2 separate regions of the Homo sapiens genome follow, and region 1 is linked to region 2. Evidence: promoter capture Hi-C in 16 types of primary human blood cells and fetal thymus (Javierre and others, 2016). All regions are on one chromosome and are shown on one strand. Each heading gives the region's core, a stretch centred on a gene start or on the middle of the fragment in contact. The rest is flanking DNA. Distances are from core to core; before and after follow the strand shown. Region 1 overlaps TSC22D1 (TSC22 domain family member 1). Region 2 holds the start of CCDC122 (coiled-coil domain containing 122).

Region 1 (6,167 bases), core at 3,668-6,167, 550 kb after region 2:
AATCTAAGACAAATTATCTTCCCTTCCACTGACAATGCACAATGGTGGAGTGCAGCATAATAATTGCAATAAACCTCCCATTGGAAGCATAGGAAACACACAGTAGGCTCCAGCCCTCAGCTATTAGGAAATCCTGTTGGGCAGGCATTGAGAAGATCCCTTTGCCCTGGCAATAGGGGAAGCTCTCCCATTAGACCATGATTCTATTCTCTGGGAAGAAACCCTTGGTGCATTGTTCTCTAAAACTGCAGGCCTCTTACCTCTGGGAGGCTTTTCTTGTCCAGTATCCCCCAGGGCCATGTATGAAATGGATGTTGGAGATAATGCTCTTCCTGGGAGCTAGACAGCTTTAGGCTCCCACTTCACCCACTTCCATCTCCTGCCAGTGTTGGGGGGGCCTGAGGGTTGTTTGAAGGTTTCAACAAAGTTTTCTTGCTGTTATTAAGTCTGGGTTGGCTGGTGATTTACTTGGTAGTAAATGTTCTTCAAAAACTTAGTAAGCTTCTCCCTTCTCTGTTTCCAGTCATTTTAATGTTATCAGTAGCAAGACCTAAAACATTCTTCTGCACATGCCTGTACTTCTGCTCCCCTACCTCTATCCACTGGACAGTGACCATGCAGAAGTCATCTGAAACAAAAGGCATATATGGGGAATTAATACCCTTTGTCTACTCTTTGCTGAAGGGATAAAGCACCTTAACTGAAAAGGCTTAATGGGCCCTACTGATTTCCAGCTCCTTGGGGTGTAGAAGCAATAGGCTTTTCCAGTATCAAATAGCCCCAAATTTCTGCATTTCTTTTTCCCTTTCCTTTGTACTTACAAACTAATTCTTTTGTGAGCTCACCTTTTCCCTGAAAAACATCAGAGGAGTAACACAGTGAAGAGTGAAAGGTCCTAACATTCTTGTACCAGCTACGTGCACACCAGGCACATGGCCAGCCTTCTAAGTTATTGCTGGCCACAGTTTTAGAAAACATTTTGTCACTTCACAATATGGGTCTTGATCTCTCTAGCCTCCACTAGTTTCATCACCACCCACCACCAGCCAACCATAGTCAATGCCCCATATTTAAGGTTTTTTTGACATCACTCCACTTCAGGTACTGATAACCATATTAGCAAAGGTTAGCCACTGAAGCTAATTTTAAAATGCCTAATGGCGGCAACACTCTTGCTCATCCAAATATGCTGCCTGGTTCGTGGGGGAGGGCACTATACTTCGGTCATTCAGGGATCCAGCTGACAAAGGCTCTGTCACTCCCAAGGTTGCCGGGTCTTCTCCATCCCATCAGTGGAAGGAGAAGGAGCCTGGCAGATCACTGAGAATGGTTTTCTCATGGGCCAAGCCTGGGGGGCTTCAGTTACTTCATCACTCATCCACTGACTAAACCTGAGTCCCACGGTCACTCCTAACTCCAAGGGGGCGGGGAGATGTAATTCAGGCGTGTGCCCAAGTGGAATAGAAAATGGAATCTTAGGCAACCAGCTTGTCGCAGTTTGCCTGGGACTTTCATGGATGTGACATTGAAAGTTCCACTACTCAGAACACCCTCAGTCCTGGGAAAACCAGTTTAAGTAGAGACACTAAGTCTCACTGTTTAAGTAGAGACACTACCTCTTCTGTTTTCTTGGTCTCTGAATCTACAGTGACTACAAACCACTTATCAGGGCATGAATTGGATGCACTTATGAGACAACAGGGCAGATTATTGTAACTGAAATATATGTGTCCCTGAAAATTTGGGTCATGTGTTATATAACCTTGGTGATACACATCTACAAACATGGTCTTTGTTCCTAAATGAATCAGCTATAAAATGTAGTGGTAGGGGATATACCGCATTGAAAAACACTACTCATTTAACAAGAGTTCCTAGAAGAATTCCCAGAAATATTTCTGCCAAAGGGTTCGTCTGAGAAGGAACAACAAATGAATAATTCAGATATTATATTGCATAAGGCAAATTTTGCCAGAAAACAAACTACCTCATTTATCTTAAAGACAGCTTATGTGAACTGTCCTTGGGGACAGGGACTGTGGCTCATTCACTACACTATCTCTGGCTTCTAGCAGGTACTCAGTAAATGTTCTCTGAGTAAGTTAACACATGGTTTTCAACACAAAGTACCAGTTTACTGTGCACCATAGTCACACAAATAGCCTGTGCCCCCTTTCTCTCATCAAAAAGAAGAGATTTTCCTGATTTATTTTGAGCTGAAGGGTGGTGAGCTGCCATTTAGGGCAGATTCTAGTTCTTGAGACAGTCAGACGACAGAAGGCGGAGGGGACACATGTGGCCTGTGGGCCAAACCAGCTTAGTAGGTGTGCTCTCTTATTTGGTCTGTGCAGTGTCCAAAAGTCAGGCATTTCCAGACAGAATCCTGGATTTATGGAACTTGGAAGAAATTGGAAGATCAAGCAACACAGTGCTTGAATTCCCATATGGCAACTGGATGGAGCTACATAGCACTGTCCCTGTTAGCTGAGCACACTCCCCAACTGCCACAGTCACTACCATGTCCTACTGCTTACCCTACTCACTCAAGAAGCTTCTCCACCATATCCGACAGACACTGGGGTCCTGAACACCTGGTCTAAAGCACAGACCTCTGTTGTAATACTGCACATTTTTAAATGGCTACTGAACCTTCCAAGTAGCTGTTGCCAGAACCTGATCTCCAAGCCTAGCGACTTCAGGCCTGCCTGGCATTCCATAGCACTGGTTTACATAGAACCTTTTTCTGTAATGAAATTAATAATTTAAGATATATATATACTCCACCTGTAATCATTTCCTTCCACCAATATTATTTCTGTAGTACCGAAAATATTGGACACTGAAACATGGACAATTCCCAACGAATCCCTTCTCTAATTCACAGAAATGAAATGCAGCCTTTTGCTATTATTTCTTTGATACAGAAAAAAACGGTGTGTTTCTATCTGTATTCTAAAGGACATTATTCCCATGTGTGTTTTCACAGTAAAGTTTAAACAGTCACTACTATTACCAAATACTAAATCAAAAGCTATTAGAAAATAAAGCTGCCACACCTTTATCCCTATGAAAAATACAAAATTAAATATATAAACAAACATAAACAAGCAGATGAATGACTCAGAAATAATAGTAATGGTTAACACTCCTTGAACCCACCTCACTCTGAACTGTCTCTGTGCTGACAGCTTCCCAGCATCAGCCTCCCAAAACCCCTATGGAGATAGCATGTCCCCATTTTAAGCATGAGGAAACAGAGAACAACAAGGAACTTGCCTGAGGTCACTTAGCTAGTAACTAGCAGAGGAGCTAGGATTAAAACCAAATTAATTTTAGCCATTAAGTTAAATGAATAAACAAAAACAGTGCACGCACACACACACACACACACCCTCCCACCAAAAGTTCGAAGAATAAAATAAAGTCATTATCAGATGCAGAGGACTGTAGCATCTGTGGCAAGACAGGATCTTTGTGACCTGATCCAATCCTTATTTCACAGGTGAGAACTCAGGTCTGAAGGATTCCATTCCTGGTCCAAAGGTCAAACAGCTGATGACTGCAGGGCCAGGCCTAGCAGCCAGAAGCCTGCCTCTCAGCTCAGGGTCCTCCCACACACCAGTGCAGGAACCTATGGCACTGTCTGCTTCCAAGTTCTATCGGTGGGCACAGATCTCCACTTGCAGGCAATGTTACCTAAGAGGGAGAGGAAACTTGATTTTCTCTGCCTCCATTTCTAAAAATCGTAATGCCACAATTGCTGCCTGAATGGATTTGAAGTTGACATCTAAAAGCAGTCATGTTGTCAGCCCCTGGTAGTTTCAACTACTTATTTTACACAAAGCAAGAGCAGAGTAGTGTCTATATAGATTAATTTTCATTCCTAATTTTAGTTATAATTAACTTTTATACATTTCTTGTATAAATTTAAAGCTGTTCTGGCATTGCATATTTATTCCATAATGAAAAATAAAAGTTCTCTTTTAAAGTATGCAAAAAATGCACACAATTACTGAAATATGAACACTGTTCATTTGAAATACAAAGTAGACGTTCATTCAAATCCATGTAAAATTCCTACTTCTCCTTCATTGAACGGGGGTTTCTCCTGCTGCAACTGATGTCATGAACACTCAGTGCTGGTACAGCATGCCATTCCCCTTAAAAATCTTTCCTTCTCCACAGAACATAAGTGCAACATAATCAGTTATATAATAACCCACAGGCCAATAAGACCTACACTCAGGTCTATAAGCAAGTAGCAAAATGCCTTTTTAAATTACCTTAAATATGTTTAAATATAAGTCAATCATCTCAAGTATGTTTAGTAATTACTAAAATGAGGAACATGTATGGAAAGACATCTTTTAATAATTCATTCTTATTTCACAAATATTCAGCTGCCAAAATTTCATGAGTCTCACATTTTTAATAAAAAGACCCAAAGTTCCATTAAATAATGGAGAAAAAAACTTCTCCACCATCTTAATACACTGACATGAGATTTTTCAAATTTTCCACGATTACCACCTATGGTATTTTAAAGATCTTCATTAAAAACATAAAAAATGAAATGGCTAGGGATTTCTATTCACTATAGTTTTTTCAAGGAAATGTAATTACTACGTAAGTATTCCTTTATTAAATTTGAAGTTATATAACCAACAAGCCAATATGAAAGATTTTTCTTTACGTCCTTTTCAAATTCCCCCAAAATATCTTTATGACAACTGCTATCAGCCTATGGCAGTGAGCCATCCATCATTTCAACAGGATGCCCGTGTCACCACTTTATAACACATGCACGCTATCGAACAATTCTTTTTAGGGATCTTGGATGTCCCATTCACCTCTCAATCTCCCACCAGCTCTAGATGAGAGAAATGAATGATTCAGAAAGTTTGTCCTTGTTCTGCAAGGACTTAAGACAAGCCTTAGAACTTGGGATTGGTCCAATTCCTACTGGGCAGGGGGCCACTGCTGAGGCCCTAGGTTGATAGATTACAGAGCCGGTAAACCCACCCCATTCACTTGCTCGCTCACGTTACTCCTACTGCAGAGTGGGATCCCTCAGGCTCACTCCTCAGGTGCCAGGGGCCAATCTGCCTCAGGATTCCTTCGTGGTTTTAATTTTGGCCTGTTTTATAGTCATGCAGAATCAACTGCAAGGACATCCTTGCTCATCTGGTCCCACCTCAAATCATCTTTTGCTTAGACAAAACGAATTATCCCAGGAGCTAGAAACTCATCCTACACTAGGAGAAACATCCCAACCCAGGGTGACAGGGTTCTTAAAGTGGAAATCAGCTTCTCCAACTTCCGTCTTTTGATCCTAGATCTGCTTATTCCAATTATACACAGAATAAGGCTCCTTCTTCCTCTCAGTTCAGTAAAAAATTAAGATTTTCAAGGACTCCTAGAATTTTAAAGCCAAAGGGGAATGTAAGAGATCATCTCTTTCAAACCCCTACATCCGTCCAGGAGTGAAGCAACCTGTCCAAGTCACACAGTAGTTAGAATTGAGCTGGACTCCTCCACTGTCTCTTCTCTTACCTGCTGAACAACTCAATGTGTCAATTTCCTTTTACTTCATGCAGTCAAATCACGCCCCTACTTTTCCAATCATTCCACTGCCCTTCAGGATTTTACTAGTCAAATTGTTAACTTTACCTGGAAACAGTTGTGGAAATGACTGCCATTATGTTAACAGGGTCATATGAAAAACACTTGTTTATCAACATTTATATGCTTTATTGAAAGTTGACAAGTGCAACAGTTAAATACAGTGACACCTTACAATTGTGTAGAGAACATGCACAGAAACATATGCATATAACTACTATACAGGTGATATGCAGAAACCCCTACTGGGAAATCCATTTCATTAGTTAGAACTGAGCATTTTTCAAAGTATTCAACCAGCTCAATTGAAAGACTTCAGTGAACAAGGATTTACTTCAGCGTATTCAGCAGCTAGATTTCAGATTACACAAAGTGAGTAACTGTGCCAAATTCTTAAAATTTCTTTAGGTGTGGTTTTTGTCATGTAGCAGTTTTTATGTAGATCTATATATAAAAGTCCACACCTCCTCAGACAGCCAATGAAACAACTAAATTTCAATCTGTACAACCTAAATAGTAGTTACAGTCCTCTATTGTACAAAATA
Region 2 (6,145 bases), core at 3,027-5,526:
GGATTTAGGGTAGGTGACTGAATATGCAAATGGACAATGGCCAGACCATATGTAAAAACAGAACTCTGACCCACAACCTGCAGCAAGCAACCCAGGAGACTAACCCATTATCTACAGTAACCAGTCCAGGAAGTCTATAAATTAGACTTGTAGAAAGTTAAATCATTATCTCTAATAACAATCCTAGGAGACAAACTATAACAATTGTCCCAAATGACCAGTACTGGATTAATAACTGGCATCTTCCCTAACTTTTGTCCCCATTTCCAAGTTGAGACTAACAAAAAGAAGCCATAGAATGCTCCACTTCTAGTTAGCCTGCCTGCAGCTTCCTCATGCTGAGAGCCTCTAATCAGGGCATGCCCACTCCTCTGCCTGCCTTCAACTTTGCTAAAATGCAGGAGATTGTGGCTCCCTCCCTTACAAGGCCTGAATAAATAGCTTTTGCTTGTTCTCATTTGATTGATCTTCATTTATTTCTACACAAGAATCCTTATAAGAGAAAGGTAGAGGGCTACTTGAGACTCAGACCCACATGGAATAAGACCATTTGACGATGGAGGCATGGAGCTTGAAGTCACTTAGCCCCTAGGCAAAGAACACCTGAAGTCACCAGACAACAGAAGAGGTAAGTGAACCACCAAAATGTGCAAGGTGCTGTCAACACCTCAGTTTCATCATCTGGCCTCCGTAACTGTGAGAGAACAAGTTTTTGTTGTTTTTAGTCACCCAGTTAGTGCCAATTTGTTATGCTAGCCCTAGGAAACTAACAGAAGCTTTTAGCAAGGAAATTTGCATCTGCTACATGGCTTTTTCTGGAAAGATCCATAAACCTTAGTGTAAATGGCTTAAAAACAACTGTTTTGTTCTTTAAAATTATACTTGTTCTCATGAGAAGATTTACATAGCATTATAAAAATGTCTGGTGAGTTCTTCAATAGTTCCCTTAATAGCCAGGCACTATCTCTGCCCTCAAAACACTCTAGGCAGAAAGACACACAGTCAATTAAAATGGAGAGGCGCAGCAGCTTATGTCTAAGCCTATCTACACATAACCTCTAACCACTTAACTCACTCTATTACCTTTGTAAGTCATAAGTGACTAATTCCCATATCATGCTAGGAAACTGTTAACTAGTAAATCTGCCTATTTCTGCTCCTATCAATTGACTAGTTCAATCTTATGACTTACTTGTGTTTGTTTGCAAACCTGTTTTTGCCAGTTGTGCTTGATATTGTGCTTTCGTAACTTAATATTGTATAAACCAATGAAATAGTGTGGAAATTGTTGTTTCTTTAAAAATCTATGTTTAATATTTTGGAAAGACCCAACAAAAGTATGTGAGATTAACTGTAAAAGATTATAAAATATAGCGGTGGCTCATGCCTGTAATCCCAGCACTTTGGGAGGCTGAGGCAGGCAGATCAAGAGAGGTCAGGAGTTCGAGACCATCCTGGCCAACATGGTGAAACCCCGTCTCTACTAAAAATACAAAAATTAGCCGGGCGTGGTGGTGCACGCCTGTAATCCTAGCTACTTGGGAGGCTAAGGCAGGAGAATCACTTGAACCCTGTGGAGGCTGCAGTGAGCCGAGATCGCACCACTGTACTACAGCCTGGCGACAGAGCGAGACTTCATCTCAAAAAAGAAAAAAATTACAAAGTATAAATCTGCCCTCAGATTGCTTCACAGGTGCCTTTAAGTTATTTTCCCCTTAAAAGAACAAAATCTTGGGAAATCTTAGCTGATGGTTTATGGGTACGGTTTATGCAAGAGATAGTATGCAGAATTCCAATCAGTAGACTACATGCAAAGAAAAGGTCTTGGATCTTCTCAATAGATGGGCAAATGAACACACAGTTGTTTTAGGTTAGAATACAGTTTAAGGTATTTGTTATATTTTTTCATGATTCTGTGGTTTAACTGACCTTTTTTCTTATAAAAAAAGCCTTTTTTAGATATAATTTACATACCACAAAGTACATCCTTATAAAGTGTACAATTCAATATTTAACCATTTTTTCCACTTATTTCTTGGCTAGGGGCCCAGACTACATCTATGAGAGGGCTTCTTCATATGAACAAAATGTAAAGAAGCTATTAATTTTGCTTGATGAGGGATGGGGATTCAGGGAAGATTATGTTTGAGCTTGAAGAGCCTTGAACAAAAAGTAGCAGTTAGGCATATAAAAAGGAGGGTATTTTGCTAAGTAGAGGAACTGCAAATGTAAAGAATGAAATCATGTGGCCTCCAAAGAACAGCTTTTATTTGAGTGGCTTGGGAATAGGGTGTTTTTATTTTTTCAAACTTAATTATGCATCTAACTCATACATAGAGGTTAAAACAAAACAAAAAAGCAAAGCAAAACATGCTCAGGCCTAACTCCTAGAGATTCTGATTCAATGTATATTTGGGATAGAGTCTCTACATTAATTATTTTTTTTTTCAGTTGCACTTGCAGTTCTGATTTGCAGCCAAGACTGAGAACCACTGGAGTAGGATAGAGTGAAAATGGGATGAGGAAGTGTTAGGACATGACACTAGGACCAGATGGTGAAAGGAAATGGTATGCAAATACAATATAACAAACTCTCTTCCCTGACAACTTCATTCTTTTGAAATATTTTCTTTTTCATTTTTTTTTTACTGCCACTACTTTTGCATGAAAGAATACGAATCCCACCATTGTAAAAACAGAGATAAATGTTTAAAACCTTTGTAACTAAAAGACCTCTGTTTTGCTTGAGGTATTAAGCTGGTGCAAAAGTAATTGTGGTCTTTGTCAATGGCAAAAACCGCAATTACCTTTGCACCAATCTAATGATATTTAACATAAACAAACTCAGGGCAGAGTGCACCTTCTGATTGGGTGTACCATCTACCGCTCGGGGCTCTTTAACAAATGACCAAAGAAAACATGAATTTTGACATAACTGGTGCTAGGGTTATTGAAGGGTGGGTTTCCATTCTGGGTTAGTGCTCCCAGTCTCTAGTCAAGCACAAGAACATGCCTACCCCAGAGGGCTCTTCCAAATTCCCAGCTATCTGAGATTATGAGACAAAGGTTCTTTAGCGCCTACCAAATGAGCAACAATGAAGATAAAAGGGACCTCTCCTTCCATCATAACCAGTTCCCCAGGAAGCACCATTTCTCTTACTCTTGGAAGGTCGGATATTTTTTCCCTTTACCATACACTGGCCTTCCATGTCCTAACTGCTATTTTCAAATAAATGAACGTTATATTCTTGGAGGACAGATCAGGGATGCTAAACTGCACCTTTATCATGATTTTAGGGATGAGCGCCTTTTACTTAAGTCCTGCTAGTGGCACATATTTTAAAAGGCCATAGAGGACATCCGTGTTGTCAACACAAGTGAAGGCGCTCGGAAGAGTGTTGGTCAGCAAGAATCAGCACAAAGACATTGGAGGAGAGACAACAGCTTGTTTCTGGAAACAAATGAACAACAAAAAAACACTAAAACATCTCGAGGGGGCCCCTGACTTGAGCCCTGCATGGGAAAAGCTGCCAAGAGCTAGCATGACAAGGGACTGGCCCTGGGCTGCGGTGAGGAAACCCAGCGTCCTGACCACACTGCTGGGTCAGCGAGGCGTCCCTCAGAGACCGGAAACGCGGACTTCAGCTCGCTTGGGAAACGGCTTCCATTAGCAGAAGGGAGACTGCGGTTTAGTCCCGAGGTCGCTCCAGCAGCCCGGCCTCACGCGACCCACCATTCCCGCCGCCCCCTCACGGTGCCCGCCGTTCCCGCCGCCCGGCTTTCTAACCGGGCCCCTAGTTCCCCGCCCCGTGCCCTCTGGAGACCTGCAGCTCCTGCCGCCCTGCGCCCGCTCCCAGGGCCCGTCGTTCCGCCGCCCTATCCCTCCTCAAGGGGCCCCTAGCTGCCTCCTCGCGACCCTTTCCGGACTCGGCCTGCCCACTCCTGCCCGCTAACCCGCCTGGCTCCCGGGCGAGAGCCCTCGCGCGGCTCTGGTTCCTGTTCCTCTAACGCCGCCGGGGCTGCGGGATGCCGACTCCGCGGACCGCCCAGACCCGGAACTGCTGAGGCAGCAGCGGGCTCGCGGCGCTTGGCTCATCCCGGGATTCCCCAGCTCTCGCGCTGGGCCCGCCGCGTTCGCACCAAGCACGCCAGGCGGCCCTGGCCTACCTCCCTCCCGCCTCCCGGCAGCTGGCACGAGGGAACCTGGCCGTCAGGTTTCCCCTGGGATCCTGGGACGGTATCAGGCGGGGAATCTGTGCGGCCGCGGCGAGGTAGGTGAGGTGAGGCGGGGCGAGGTGGGCGAGGGGGGCGAGGTGAGGCGGGGCGAGGCGGGGCGAGGCGAGGCGGGGCGAGGTGGGCGAGGTGGGCGAGGTGAGGCGGGGCGGGTGTCGTCGCGCTGGGCCGAGCTTACGACTCCAGCTGACCCGCTCGCGGCTGCCCAATTTCGTTGAGGCTCAGGACGAGGGACGGGGCGGCAAATTGTCACAGAGGTCGCCGTAGACCGGTGTGCAACCGAAGGTGAAGAGCGGGAAGGCGAGGACCGAATCGCCTCTGGTGTGCGTTGTCCGACAGGAAGTCCCGAATGGGCTGTGAGCCGCCGGTGGAGGTGCCCGGGCAGGTGCAGAGCCACAGCCTGCGCCCCGTGAGCCGAGGCGGGTAGGAGGAACAGGGACCTGGCGGCGACACACGTTGGGCGGAAATTCACAATGAACAGGGAAGGGGGGACGGTCACCCACTCAAAACTGGCTAAATGAACCTCAGAGGGAGCCCCGAGAGATGGGGAGCAAAGGTTAGGGGAAGCGGCAGGAGAAAACCTTCTTGGGGCAAAGGGCGTCACCAAAGGGGGTCACCGGAGCCCCGCAGGTTGGGGTGGGAGGGCTGGGCTGGAGGTGAGCAAAGCTGCACGGGGAGAATGAATTAAGAAAGTTGAGAGGAAGCCTGTCTCATCCAAATCACTATAGCTTTTGTGGTCATTGCTAAGTGTGGAGTACTGCGCAAATCCTGAAGGGAACTCTATTAGCCATCTCAGCTTTTATCATCTTAAAACGCGAATTTCGCGTGCAGCTCCATTTAGCTTCGTAAACTTAAGCCCCCGCATATGAAAGGATGAGACCTAATATGACAATCATGTCAGGACTAATGATATATCACACAGGTTGACACTCTGCAATTTAAAAACAGGACTTTGTCTAAACTCCACAAGTAATTCCTTACTCAAAAGTTCTGTGTAAACAAAACAGAGGAACTGTCGTGCTGCTGGAAAGATGTACCAGCATTTTCACAAAACGAATTAAAAGATGGCTTTGCTTTCACTGTCATGGTTCTGTTGTGACAGAGTAGACTGGCTTTTCTGGGAGGGGCCTAGATTTACTATTTTAGTTACATTTTAAAATCAGTGTAATTACTTCGTTTTTAATCTACCACAAATTTCTGTTGTAACTATAAGATTTATATAATCTTATATTCTTACACTAATTTTTATTTGCAGGTGATTTATTTGGCATAAAAGTATTCTTTCAAGGATGGCAGAAGCTGTTTTGATTGATCTTTTTGGTTTGAAATTGAACTCTCAAAAAAACTGCCATCAGACATTACTGAAGACTTTGAATGCTGTCCAATACCACCATGCTGCCAAGGCCAAGTTTCTCTGTATAATGTGTTGCAGTAACATCAGCTATGAAAGGGATGGAGAACAAGATAATTGTGAAATAGAAACAAGCAATGGATTATCAGCTCTCTTGGAAGAATTTGAGATTGTTAGCTGTCCCAGCATGGCTGCCACTTTGTATACCATTAAACAGAAAATTGATGAAAAAAATCTGAGCAGCATTAAGGTAATTGTACCCAGGCACAGGAAGACATTAATGAAAGCTTTTATTGATCAACTCTTCACTGATGTTTACAATTTTGAATTTGAAGATTTGCAAGTGACTTTTAGGGGAGGGCTTTTTAAACAGTCCATTGAAATAAACGTAATCACAGCTCAAGAACTAAGAGGAATTCAGAATGAAATAGAAACATTTTTGAGAAGTCTGCCAGCACTGAGAGGAAAATTAACTATTATCACTTCTTCTTTGATCCCAGGTATATTAACCACTAACTGTTGTTTTTACTTTGTACATGGAAAACTAGTCTTTCTTCAGAG

Evidence for each region. Contacts are between HindIII fragments. The CHiCAGO score rates a contact against its expected background, and 5 or more counts as called.
Region 1: a fragment that was not itself captured here is called in contact with the fragment with the promoter of CCDC122 in region 2 in 7 of 17 cell types (non-activated CD4 T cells, monocytes, total CD8 T cells and 4 more); the score reaches 9.0 in non-activated CD4 T cells.

Annotation. Positions count from the first base shown.
Region 1 is chr13:44,427,792-44,433,958 of GRCh38, forward strand. TSC22D1 (TSC22 domain family member 1) reads right to left here. Exons shown (of 3, transcript NM_183422.4): 3 at 4,352-6,167. Among named protein-coding and RNA genes, the nearest start is that of TUSC8, 25 kb to the left of the region's middle. The HindIII fragment of the contact is 4,737 bases long and covers 2,550-6,167 here.
Region 2 is chr13:43,875,464-43,881,608 of GRCh38, forward strand. It overlaps CCDC122 (coiled-coil domain containing 122), which reads right to left and starts at 4,277. Exons shown (of 7, transcript NM_144974.5): 1 at 4,168-4,277. LACC1 (laccase domain containing 1) reads left to right here and starts at 4,441. Exons shown (of 7, transcript NM_153218.4): 1 at 4,441-4,656; 2 at 5,489-6,084. The coding sequence starts at 5,523. RefSeq lists a silencer at 4,179-4,328. The HindIII fragment of the contact is 5,095 bases long and covers 775-5,869 here.